Regions from separate parts of the Homo sapiens genome. Here region 1 is linked to region 2. Evidence: promoter capture Hi-C in 16 types of primary human blood cells and fetal thymus (Javierre and others, 2016). All regions are on one chromosome and are shown on one strand. The core of a region is centred on a gene start or on the middle of the fragment in contact, and the rest is flanking DNA. Distances in the headings are between cores, read along the strand shown.

What was found. Contacts are between HindIII fragments. The CHiCAGO score rates a contact against its expected background, and 5 or more counts as called.
Region 1: a fragment that was not itself captured here is called in contact with the fragment with the promoter of LRRC31 in region 2 in 1 of 17 cell types (total B cells); the score reaches 5.3 in total B cells.

The regions. Positions count from the first base shown.
Region 1 is chr3:169,823,209-169,830,122 of GRCh38, reverse strand. It overlaps LRRIQ4 (leucine rich repeats and IQ motif containing 4), which reads right to left. Exons shown (of 6, transcript NM_001080460.3): 3 at 1,191-1,364. Among named protein-coding and RNA genes, the nearest start is that of LRRC34, 14 kb to the right of the region's middle. The HindIII fragment of the contact is 924 bases long and covers 3,489-4,412 here.
Region 2 is chr3:169,866,842-169,873,686 of GRCh38, reverse strand. It overlaps LRRC31 (leucine rich repeat containing 31), which reads left to right and starts at 3,752. Exons shown (of 9, transcript NM_024727.4): 1 at 3,752-4,054. The coding sequence starts at 3,880. The HindIII fragment of the contact is 9,706 bases long and covers 1-6,845 here.

The DNA of each region.
Region 1 (6,914 bases), core at 2,701-5,200, 44 kb after region 2:
TAATTGCCTCAACTATCAACCCAATATTGCCTCAGTGAAAGTAGCCAAAATGCACAGGGAATGGATTTGAATGTATTCAAAATAACTATTTTCAACTTCACTGGGCAAAAATCTAATGTTTGTACTTCACCCTAAGATTGTGGCATGACAGGTACAAAGGAAAAGCTGATGAAAGGTGTTCTATGAACACAGGGCAAAGGAATGGAGAATTAGGAAGAGACACCCTGTGTCATAGTGAGAACTACCTATGCTGTGCATGGCATTGCATGACTGGGGTTATGTGGTGGCCCACGCCTACTTTATCATCATTAAGAGTGCAGCAGGTCAGACACGGTGGTTTATGCCTATAATCCCGGCACTTTGGGAGGCCGAGGCAGGTGGATCACCTGAGGTCAGGAGTTCGAGACCAGCCTGGCCAACATGGCAAAACCCCGTCTTTACTAAAAATACAAAATTAGCCAGGTGTGGTGGTGGGCGCCTATAATCCCAGCTATTTGGGAGGCTGAGGCAGGAGAATCGCTTGAACCCGGGAGGTGGAGGTTGCAGTGAGCCATTGCACTCCAGCCTGGGCAACAAGAGCGAAACTCTGTCAAAAAAAAAAGTGCAGCAACAGGAACATGAAAAAAAAAAAACAGTTCTTTAAAGGATGAATATATGAAGACACCCTACTATGGCTACTTTGAATGAAGTTATCCTGTTGCTTTGCAAGTATTCCTCACAGCCCTGCAGATCCAGGAAGCTGGTGCAACATGATTTCCCTTTTCCAATCAGGGAGAGAGGTCACACTTCCCCTTACAGGAAATCCTGGGCACCAAAATGTAGGCTCCCAGCATGTCACTTGTATGATACTCTTTAACTTCAAAATAGTCCAGTTTTCAGGGGGCTACTTATAAAAAGTGGAAATTAAATGGAAAGAGTTATGACTCAATTTCTGCAAATGAAACACACCAAATCACACAGTGGAAAGAAGTATGGCAGGACATATCCAACAGCAATCACAATGAAATGTTGAAGAGTTGTTCACGGACAGTGGAAACCTCAAAATGTAAAAATGATTGCTTGTCTGAAGCTGGAAATCTAGTATGGATGATTCTACATCCAGCCTGTGGAGACCTCATATTTTCTCAGTTTCAGCCAATTTAAGAGGCAGTGACAGGTGCTTCTTAGCCTGCTCATTTGGGGAGGCTTACCTGCAGTTTCCTAATGTGTTCTGGCACATAGGTAAGTTTGAATCCCTGGTCTTGCCCAATGTATAATTTCTCTAAAGACGCTAAAGAAAGGACTTCCTCCGGAAAGGAAAGGAACTCATTTCCTGTTAGTCCAAGTATCTTCAGTTTTGAAAGTGAGCCCAATTCTGAAGGTAACTAGAAGTATTCCAAAAAGATAAGTTTCAGGTCAAGATTATTTTTAACAGCAGAGATAAATTGGGCTTCTGGTTTTGAGGCAGACTGCTAAACAAGTGGAGTAACTTAGCCTCTCCTACTAGTGAAAAATTTGTGCACATATCTGCATTACAGTATTTATACTTGTAGATCTAAAGTCTCTGATTTCACTTTTATGCACCACTTTAAACTGGAGCAATTTTTTGTGGCTGGGCGCGGTGGTTTATGCCTTTAATCCCAGCACTTTGGGAGGCCAAGGCCAGTGGATCACCTGAGGTCAGGAGTTCAAGACCAGCCTGGCCAACATGGCGAAACCTTGTCTCTACTAAAAAATATAAAAATTAGCTGGGTGTGGTAGCGGGTGCCTATAATCCCAGCTACTCGGGAGGCTGAGGCAGGGGAATCTCTGGAATGTGGGAGGCAGAGGTTGCAGTGAGCCGAGATTGTGCCACTGCACTCCAGCCTGGGCGACAGAGCGAGAATCTGTCTCAAAAAAAAAAAAATTGGAGCAATTTTTAACCTATGTTCTTGCCATTTATGGACTGTAGTGTGGCAACTGTTTGACACTATAGAAAGAAAAATACTAAAGTTATGTGTAATATTGCAATAATAATATTCATTATAAATTCAGTTATTGGAACTAATAAATTTAGTGATATGACTCTTCATCCTAAAAGGCTTTAATAATTTTGAAACTTCAGTTGAAATCTCAGTTGGAGGCAAACATATATTCACACCATTTCTAATCAGTGTTCAGTGAACTCCATTATGATCCTATCGTGTCATGTTCTGCTTTTCAGTGAATACCCAGGCTTGTGTAACCTGTGTGGGAACTGGGTCGGCATTTCACAGAGTGCCACACTTTCAGGGCTGGAACGCCTTAAGAAGGTTCTCTATTTCAACCTTCTAATACAGTGCTTGCATACTTTTTATAGCGAGCCATCCAGTTTTATCTAAACACCACCTCCTGTGAAGAAAAGCTCATTATCTTCTATGGCTACTTCTAATCATCAGATTTCCTACTTTAGTACAGCCAAAATCAGCTTCACCATTATGTCCGTCTATCGGTTTCTTTCTGGACCATGGGAGACCACATGGGAAAAAAATCTCTTTTTTTTTTTTTTTTTTTTTTTTGAGACGGAGTCTCGCTCTGCCGCCCAGGCTGGAGTGCAGTGGCGCGATCTCGGCTCACTGCAAGCTCCGCTTCCCGGGTTCACGCCATTCTCCTGCCTCAGCCTCCCGAGTAGCTGGGACTACAGGCGCCCACCACCACGCCCGGCTAATTTTTTGTATTTTTAGTAGAGACGGGGTTTCACCATGTCAGCCAGGATGGTCTCGATCTCCTGACCTCGTGGTCCGCCCGCCTAGGCCTCCCAAAGTGCTGAGATTACAGGCATGAGCCACCGCACCCGGCGAAAAAATCTCATTCTTAAAATATGTGACAATCACCCTATTGACTGTGTTACAGAGATGCCTTATTTTCTCGTAGAAAAAAATCCCAGCTATATAGCTCAACAGCTCCTTAACTCATATGTTCCTTTATCTGGCTTAATTCCTAACTGGGAAATCCTTCCCCACAGTTCCCTGCTTGAGCCCATGGGCATTCTTCCCATCCATTCCCTAGTCAGCCACCCTACTTTCATTCTGGCTAGAGCTCAGCTGAGCCACTCCCACCCCCACCTCTCTATGGATGGGTGGAATAGACAGGTAATTGGTGAATGGGTCACTTACAGTTGGAGAAAAAGAAAGTTCACTGAGGACAACCTATCTGTAAAAGTTTCACATACTTGGAATCTTCCATAATGCATTTTTCTCTTTTTTGTGTAGAGTAAGGACTCATTTTCCTAAAAATGCTGTAACAGTTTTCCAGTTTTATTTATTTACCTATTTATTTTAATTAGATGAAGTCAATCTTTGGAGAAACTGATGTTTAAGCTTTCCTCTTTGGCTATTTCAAAATTCTTCATCAAGCACTTAGATGTCTTCAATACAAAATGCCTGCATTCTGTGCAGTCCAAAACAATGAAAAAAGATTTTTCAATCTAACCATTTTATTATAACCTAGAAATTTCATTCTTATTGCTGTTCACTTAACTCATAAAAGCTTAGCTTTTCTTTTTCAAAGCACATTGAATGTTCAAAAATTTTTTTTAGGAGTATTTAAGATCCAGTAGTTAGTTTCATCATAGTCATAGTAAAGTATAATGAGAAGAAATCTAGATGTATAGAAAATCTGTAGAGCATTAGATGAGGACAATTACTGATGACACTGTAACTGACATATAGCCATTTTGGGATCTGGTACATTGTTTTGGTTTTTTCCTTTTTCTTTTTCTTTTTTTTTTTTTGAGGCGGAGTTTCACTCTTCTTGCCTCGGCTGGACGGCAATGGTACAATCTTGGCTCATTGCAACCTCTGCCTCCTGGGTTCAAGCGATTCTCCTGCCTCAACCTCCCGAGTAGCTGGGATTACAGGTGCCCACTACCATGCCCGGCTAATTTTTGTATTTTTAGTAGAGATGGGGTTTCGCCACGTTGGCCAGGCTGGTCTCAAACTCCTGACCTCAGTTGATCCACTCGCCTCATCCTCCCAAAGTGTTGTGATTACAGGCGTGAGTCACCGCACGTGGCCTGCTTTTCTCCTTTAATAGAAGTATACTCTACAAATAAAATCCATCTAGGTACACATTGAAAATCAGATATTTTTTGCATGCACACAGGCAAGTAGAAGCTACTGGTTAGGCTTTAAGAGCTAGTAACCCATGAGTTGAGTCTTTGGGGAGGGAGAGATAATGAGCTGGCTTAAAGGCCATGTTTCATTGAGGAGAGAAATGCATTGGAAGGTGGTATTAGCATAAGAGGAAATTGAGAAGGGAGGACAAATGCACACACACACACAAAACCCATCAGAATAACTGAAGAGGAAAAAGCACTGGTACACAGAGATTGTCATGTTCAATACAATAATATTTAACATGTCTACATTTCAGTGCAGTTTGACTTGTGCTAAAACTTGGTATTGGATGAAGCTTATTTTTGTTAACAAGCAGTCTGTGTGTGATTTGCTCCTTTGATTTCTTAAAATTTCTCTCAGAAAAGGATTAGGTATTATTCATGGCTCAGTATAATGTGTTATCCCTCCCACATGTACTTTATATTTTAAGTCTTTCACTCCAACTGCAGAATGACTGACTTAGTCCACTAAAAGGAATTTCTTACATCAGCAGTGGAATAGTTCAGGGCCGGGCTCTCACGGAACCTCAAAAATCCTCCAAGGTGAGTTGCTACATCAGTGGAGATTAAGTCCTAGAATCTCGACCTAAATCTACAAGTTACCATCAAAATGTTTACTTCCTGAAAGGCAGCTTTAAAACCCCATAGCAATTTGGGGAAAAAAGTTCTAGAAATAAAAAATCAAATAAAAGATTTTTTTAGCAGCCGGGCACAGTGGCTCACGCCTGTAATCCCAGCACTTTGGGAGGCTGAGGTGGGCAGATCATGAGGTCAGGAGTTTGAGACCAGCCTGGCCAATATGGTGAAACCCTGCCTCTACTAAAAATACATAAATTAGCCGGGCGTGGTGGCAGGCACCTATAGTCCCAGCTACTCGGGAGGCTGAGGAAGGAGAATCGCTTGAACCTGGGAGGTGGAGGTTGCAGTGAGCTGAGATGGCGCCATTGTACTCCAGCCTGGGCAACAGAGCGAGAGCTCATCTCAAAAAAAAAAAAAAAAAGATTTTTAAAAATAAATCCGTAAGGCCCAGGACTTTTATAATTTATAGGGAACACATGAGACTGGTGTCCATGGCCAGGTAAAGCAGACCTATTATTTGATTATAGTTGTTGATTTCCAAATTCCCCTTTTTACTCCCTCTACAGTTGTCTTTTGCTCTTAACAGCTATTTTTTTCTTTTTAAATCAAATATTATAGGCCAGCCATGGTGGCTTACACCTGTAATCCCAGCACTTTGTGAGGCCAAAACGGGTGGATCACTTGAAGCCAGGAGTTTGAGACCAGCCTGGCCAACATGGTGAAACCCCGTCTCTATTAAAAATACAAAAATTAGCCGGGTGTGATGGCGCACACCTGTAGTCCCAACTACTTGGGAGGCTGAGGCAGGAGAATCGCTTGAACCCAGGAGGCAGAGGTTGCAGTGAGCCAAGATAGCACCACTGCACTCCAGCCTGGGTGACAGAGTGAGTGAGACTCCATCTCAAAAATAAATAGATAAATAAATAAAATTAAAATTGAAATAAATAGAATATTATAAAATAATAAAGAAACATAAACCCACGCGTGCCCAACTGCCCAAATCTTTTAATAAACAAAATGAAATACTGCAATTAAGTTCAGTCCCCTTATGATCTCTTCCCCATTTGCTTTCTTGGTTTTTAAAGACACATTCCTACATTGCCCAGCATGGTCTTGAACTTCTGGCCTCTAGTGATCCTCCCTCCTTGGCCCCCTAAACTGCTGGGATTAGAGGAGTGAGCCACTGCATCCAGCTGCTTCCCTATTTTGTTGACTTCCTTCTCTCTTCCCAGAGGCAGCCACCTTCATGAATTTAGTTTTCTTCCAGTCAATATTTTATATTTTCATTATATATAAAAATATCCATAAAATATGTGTTGTGTGTATATGTGTGTATGTATATACATATATGTGTGTATATATATAGTTTTGTGTGATTTCAAAATTTATAAATGGTATCATAAGGTTCTGCAGTTTGATGCGGAACCTTAGGTTTTCTTTTCAATAAACATCACAATACTGAGATCTATCCATATTGGCAATACAGTACCAGTTCACTTAAATTACTATATAACTTCGTTTTATGAATATATTGAAGTTTATTTGCCCACTCCCCTACTGACATTTAGATTGTCTCCCATAATTTCATGATTATCAACAATGCTAAATGACCATTTTTGAATATGCCACCCTGCACACACGGGACAGTTTCTGTTGGGACAAGTCTGGTTTTGCAGTTTCCTATGGATGGAACTTTAGGCTTCTAAGGCTGTTGTGTATTAGAAACATCTGCTGTTAACGGAAACTCTGTCAGGAGATTGTCTTTGTTAAGAATATAGACCCTGGGCCGTGCGCGGTGGCTCACGCTTGTAATCCCAGCACTTTGGGAGGCCGAGGCGGGCGGAACACAAGGTCAGGAGTTCGAGACCAGCCTGGACAACACCGTGAAACCCCGTCTCTACTAAAAATACAAAAATTAGCTGGGCATGATGGCAGGTGCCTGTAATCCCAGCTATTCGAAAGGCTGAGGCAGGAGAACCGCTTGAACCCGGGAGGTGGACGTTGCAGTGAGCCGAGATCACACCACTGCACTCCAGCCTGTGCAATAGAGCTAGACTCCGTCTCGGGGAAGAGAAAAAAAAAAAAAAAAGAATGTAGACCCTGGAGCCTGGCAGCTGTGGGCTGGAATCGCGGCTGCAGCACTTACAGGCTGTGTAACCTTGGATATGTTAGTTAAGCTCCCTGCCCCTCACTTCCTTCATATACCATTGAGGACACAGTC
Region 2 (6,845 bases), core at 2,503-5,002:
AATAAAAGTAGAAATTGATTACTGTATTCTTAAAACTTTACATTTGGAGTTCAGTCCTCTGAATCACTTTCTATTTTTTTTTGAGATGGAGTCTCACTCTGTAGCCCAAGCTGGAGTGCAGTGGTGCAATCTTGGCTCACTGCAACCTCTGCCTCCTGGGCTCAAGCGATTCTCGTGCCTCAGTCTCACGAATAGCTGGGACTACAGGTGCACACTGCCACACCCGGCTAATTTTTTGTATTTTAGTAGAGATGGGGTTTCATCATGTTGCCCAGGGTGGTCTTGAACTCCTGAGCTCAGGAAATCTGCCTGCCTTGGCCTCCCCAAAGTGCTGGAATTACAGGTGTGAGACACTGCACCCAGCCTGAATCACTTTTTAAAAATACACTTAAAAATGTTTTAATTGTGGTAAAAACTACAGAACACAAAATTAACCATCTTGACCATTTTTAAGTATACAGTTCAGTAGTGTTAAATATATTCACATTGTTGTACAACAGATTCACAAAGTTGTACAAAGACGAACTTTTTCATCTTGCAAAACTGGAACTTTATACCCATCAGACGACTCCCTACTTCCCCTCCCCCTAGCCCCTGGCAAACACAATTTTTACTGTTTCCATGAATTTGGCTACTTTAGATACTGCATAGAAGAGGTGTCATACAGTATTTATCTTATTGTGACTGGCTTATTTCACTTGGCCTAATGTCCTCAAGATTCATTCATGTTGTAACAGGCAACAGAATTTCCTTTCTTTTTTTAATGAAATAAGACTGTGGAGAAAGAAAAATGCATCTCCCTTTGACAAACAACATTGAAAATATGATTCACTCTGAAACATTACATCAAAAAATGAAAGACTGGCTAGGTGCGGTGGCTCACGCCTGTAATCTCAGCACTATGGGAGGCCGAGGTGGGCGCACCACCTGAGGTCAGGAGTTTGAGACCAGCCTAGTCAACATGGTGAAACCCCGTCTCTACTAAACATACAAAAATTAGCCACGTGTGGTGGCGGATGCTTGTAATCCCAGCTATTTGGGAGGTTGAGGCAGGAGAATCACTTGAACCCAGGAGGCAGAGGTTGCAGTGAGCCAAGATTGCGGCACTGAATTTCAGCCTGGGCAACAGTGAGACTCCATCTCCAAAAAAAAAAAAAAAAAAGAATAAAGAAAGAAAGACCTTTAAAGACATTCCTCAAAAATTTTAAATTATATTAAACCCAAACCTAAGGATTGACAAGAAAGGAAAGGTATTCCTTACTTTTGCAAAAGTAATAAATAAAAAGAGCTTACATGCAAGAGAAATGACGTGTCAAATATGTATTATTACTCTTGAGGCTTCATGGCAAAACCTTAACTATTAAGAATATAGTAAATATGGAAAGTATCTGCTCAATTAATATTGATGAGTTGAATTGAAATATCAGCCATTTCTTATTCCTAAGGGCTCTTAAGTGAATGCTTTTGACCCTGGTAGAAGGGACAAACCCCCAGTTTTTAGCTGCTGTATTGTGGTGGTTGTGCTGTGATCTGCAAATTTTCCCAAATTCCTTTTCCAGGGATTTCCTTTATAAAGTCCAGTTCAGGGATAAGGAGGAAGCGGAAGGTTTACTGAAGCTAAGATTTTAAAGATGGACTTGGTTTGGGAAGCCTGAGGGCTTATTAAAGTTTTTATATAAAGAGGAATTTCCCAGACATATTTTCAAGAAAAAATTATTATTATTTTTAAATATGAGTATGGTAACCTAGCACTTAACTACTATACATGAAGAAATGTGCAAATGCTTCCCCCTTTTCATTCAAAAGCCTTCCTTCCTCTGGCATGGTCCTTTCTTGTTGCCTTATTAGCCTCCTGGTTGCTTTCTATTCTCCTGTTCCTTTCCTCTCCTTCACATCCTCTTCTGTTCCTTGGTTCTTGTGTTTCTTGGCTTCCTGGCTCCCCTGTTCCTTAGTGTACTGATCTTCACAGAGAACTGGCTGGGCCTCAGAAGCTGGGTGTGGTTTCACCTGGGTAAATTACCACATCCTGGAGCACCCTCCAGCACTGTTTTCTTAGGACTTGGGGAGTTGGAGTCAGTGCATTTGGGGGGAGGATAAAAAAGTGAAACCATTTACTGAGCTAGCTCCCCAGAGAATAGCCCTGTCTAAATCTCCAAATGGTGAAATTGGCTGAAAATGACCATGGAGGTGTCCTGGGTGGGGGGCCAGAAGAGTAGCAAATTGAGAAAGGCCTGGGGTGATGGTGGAATCAGGGTGAGGCAGCCAGGGCTGCAGGTCATGTTTAGATTTATGAGTTAGCGCCCCTTTCCTTCTTCTTTTCCACCTAACCCCCTGAGACTCTAGTCAGCTGTGCTGCTGTGCATGGAGTAATTGTTTAGTTCCACTGCTGTCTGTTGCTGGGTAAACCAGGGCTGGGCCCTGCTCTAATATGAAAGGAAGATTTTAAAAGAAAAATGGAATGTCCAATTGTGACTTCCAAAGCAGTGCTCCAAGTGCATGGAACATTCCAGCCCTCACGAGTGGAGGTGGGCTCTGCAAGGTCCATTTTTAGGATTCCCTGTGTAAAATGTTTCTTGGACCATTCTGGAACATAATGTTACAGAAAGAGCTATTTTATTAGAGAGGAGACTATGAAAACTGTAATTTCAAGAATACTTCTGCTGGGCATGATGGTTCACACCTTTAAGCCCAGCACTTTGGGAGGTCGAGGTGGGCGGATCACTTGAGGCCAGAAATTCAAGACGAGCCTGGCCAACATGGTGAAAATCCATCTCTATGTCAAAACAAAACAAAACACTTCTGTGTATCCCTTTAGTTTAAGTCCTTAGCCCTCCCATAAAATATAAGCAAATTTCAGGAGAGATAATAGATTGACCTTTACGAATCCTTTTTAGCTTCAATTCATACCAGACCTCACCCCTAACCTCCACACCCCCTGACCCACATCCCCACCTCCAATGCTAGGCTCTTCCAGCCGTTCCTGCCTGGGAGCTCTTGAGCTTACCCTTTCTTCTGCCTGGGATACTCTTCCCTCTCTTAAAAAGCTAACTCGCAGTCCTTCAAAACCCAGGCAATGTCACTCACTGTTCCAAGTCTGTTCTCCAAGGCATGCTTAGTTTACTGTGGGTTCCCTGACCACCTCCCATCTCTTGGCTCTTGTCCCACTCAATCAATGGCATACAGGTCCATCTTCCCACCAGGTTAAGATCCCATCAAAGACAAGAACTGTCTCTTGTTCGTCATTGAATCTTTTGCATTTAGAACATTAACTGGCCCACAGTAGATTCTTTAAAACTATTTATGGAATGAATGAATTCTTTACTGCCAACATGTTTCAGTGGGGTGGTGGTGCAGGGTTGGGGGTAGAGAAAATATGAATATGCAAAGAGAAAAAGGAGCTTATGTGCAAAGGAAGGAGGTGGGGGTCACCAGAAGGCAGAGGTCGCTGAAGGCAAACTCCTCTGGGGACAGCTTTGCAAATGGCCAGTCCCTTTTAAAGGCATATTAAGTCTTCAGGTAACTAATTGACAGCTGTAATTTAAGATGTGTTGACACACTTGATGTGCTTGCCAAAGTCATGCTTAATGACTTGTATCTCACACAATGAAATAGGGCAAAGTTAAAAACTCAAATTGCTTTGAGTTTGTATTGGCTTCTGGATCCTGGGTTACATCATTCTTATTTTCATGTTAAACATTAACAGCAATAAAAAAACAGAAAAAGAAAGGTGGTGCGGCAGGGAGTGGGGGGCAGTCATGTAGGGGAGGATATTTTGATTGAACACAGGCTTGACAGAATCTTCTTTTCTTCTTAGAAATCCTAGAAAACAGAAAGCAACAGGAAGATGTCTTATTGGGAACTACCCCCATCAACTTCACCATGAGTCAAACAAGGAAGAAAACTTCCTCAGAAGGAGAAACTAAGCCCCAGACTTCAACTGTCAACAAATTTCTCAGGGGCTCCAATGCTGAAAGCAGAAAAGAGGACAATGACCTTAAAACAAGTGATTCCCAACCCAGCGACTGGATACAGAAGACAGCCACCTCAGAGACTGGTAAGCTGCTGGCTGCTGGTGTTTTTGCTGTTGTATTTGTTTTGTTTTTACTTCCACATTTAAAATATTTTTATTTTTAATTTTTGTGGGTACATAGTAGGTGTATATATTTATGGGGTATATGAGATGTTTCAATACAGGCATGCAATGCCTAATAATCATATTGTGGAGAATGGGGTATCCATCCCCTCAAGCATTTATCCTTTGTGTTACAAACAATCCCATTATACCTTTAGTTTTATTTATTTATTTATTTATTTTGAGACAGAGTTTCACTCTTGTCACCCAGGCTGGAGTGCAATGGCGTGATCTCAGCTCATAGTAACCTCTGCCTCCCGGGTTCAAGCGATTCTCCTGCCTCAGCCTCCCGAGTAGCTGGGATTACAGATGCGCACCACCATGCCCAGCTAATTTTTGTGTTTTTAGTAGAGATGGGGTTTCACTGCATTGGCCAGGGTGGTCTCGAATTCCTGACCTCAGGTGATTTTCCTGCCTTGGCCTCCCAAACTGCTGGGATTACAGGTGTAAGCCATCACACCAGGCCTCTTTTAGTTATTTTTAAATGTGCAATAAATTATTGCACATTTAAAAATAACTAAAAGAGCACAACGGGTTGTTTGTAAACAAAGGATAAATATAGTCACCCTGTTGTGCTATCAAACAGTAGATCTTATATATTCTATTTTTTCTGTACCCATTAACCATCCACACCTCCCCCACCAACAACACACACACCCTTCCCAGCCTCTATGTTTCTTTATTTTTTAGAGTTTTCTTCTAAAGTGATCTTATGGGTTAAACTAAAGACTTTAAGACTTTTGAGACTAAAGACTCAACTATGAGTCTCTGTGCTAATCATTTATTATGTTACTTACATGCTTTAAATGATTCATAATTTTACTTTTAAATTGTTAAAAGCAATATAACACTACAGAAAAATGTAGGGAAAATACTGAATTTCCTTTCATTATAACACAAACGATCATTTCTTTAAGATTCTTTTCAGTCTTTTCTTTTCATATGCATGCATTTATGTTCTGTCAGTCAGCAGTCAATAAATCTTTATTGAGTGCTTGCTATGTAGTAACCCCTGCTCTAAGTGTTAGAAATACAGCCATGAAAAGGACCAAATGCAGATATAACTTCAGGTGGTGATAAGTGATATGAAGAAAAATAATGCAGGCTAAGGAGACAAAGAATGATGGGATGGGGTGCTATTTAGATGGGGGTGGAGGAAAGAAGTCTTCGATTTGGAGGCATTTGAGCAGCAATCTGAATAAAATCAGCTTTGCTGAATGAATGAATAAAGCGAGCCACTTAGGTATTTGTGCAAATAGCTTTCCAGGCAAAGAGACTGTACATGCAAAGGCTTTAGATACGACTGAGCCTAGAGTGCTTGAGAGAGAGTCAGGAAGTCAGGGATGCTAAAGCAGGATGGGAGACATGGAGAGGAAGGGGTAGTGGAAGACAAGTCAGAGAGGTCGCTGGGGCCAGATTGGCATCTTTTCCACAGTTGTAATAGCTTACAGATTCCTCCTGAGTTTATGTGGAGCTGTGATCCTACTTCTAGAACATATTATTATATTGCTCAATTCCCACATTGCTACATGATGCTCATATGCATAATTTTCATGGTTGCATAATATTCCATCACATTCATATGTCTTAATTACTCAGTGAGTTCCTTGTTTGTCCTTCGGTGAGTATCTTTGGCTTTCTTTCTTTCCCATTCCCTGTTTCACCATATTTCAGCTATTTTTAAAGTATAAATTTCCAGAACAGGGATTGCAAATTCAAGGGTTATGAAAATAAATATTGTCAAATCTCTCTCTAAAGTTATGTGTTATGTGCAATGTCATCAATATATTATCTATTAGATTAAAAGCATTTTAAAAACATTTTAAGCATATGCAAAAATAGAATAAAGAATCCCCATAGTCACCTACTTTTAGTAATTATCAGTTGGGCATGGTGTTTCATGCCTGTAATCCCAGCACTTTGGCAAGCTGAGGCAGGAGGATCGCTTAAGGCCAGTAGTTTAAGACCAGCCTGGGCAATATAGCAAGACTCTGTCTTGGTCGGGTGCGGTGGCTCATGCCTGTAATCCCAACACTTTGGGAGGCCGAGGCAGGCATATCATGAGGTCAGGAGATCGAGACCATCCTGGCTAATACGGTAAAACCCAGTCTCTATTAAAAATATAAAAAAGTAGCCGGGTGTGGTAGCAGGTGCCTGTAATCCCAGCTACTCGGGAGGCTGAGGCAGGAGAATCGCTTGAATCCGGGAGGTGGAGGTTTCAGTGAGCCAAGATTGCACCACTGCGCCACTGCACTCCAGTCTGGGCGACAGAGCAAGACTCTGTCTCAAAAAAAAAAAAAAAAAAAAAGACTCCATCTCTAGAAAATAGTTTAAAAATTAGCTGGGCATGGTGGTGCATGCCTGTGGTCCTAGCTACTCTGGAGGCTGAGGTGGGAGGATCGCTTGAATTTTAGAGGTTGAAGCTGTGGTAAGCCATGATTGCACCACTGGACTCCAGGCTGAGTGACAGAGCAAGACCCTCAAAAAAAAAAAAACAAACAAACAAACAAAAAAAACCCATGGCCAATTTTCTTTCTGAGACAGAAAAAAAAAAAATCAACCCATGGCCGATTTTGTTTCTTTCTTTCTTTTTGAGACAGAGTTTCGCACCGTCACCCAGTCTGGAGTGCAGCAGTGTGATCTCGGCTCACTGCAACCTCTGCCTCCCAGGTTCAAGTGATTCTCTTGTCTCAGCCTCCCAAGTAGCTGGAAC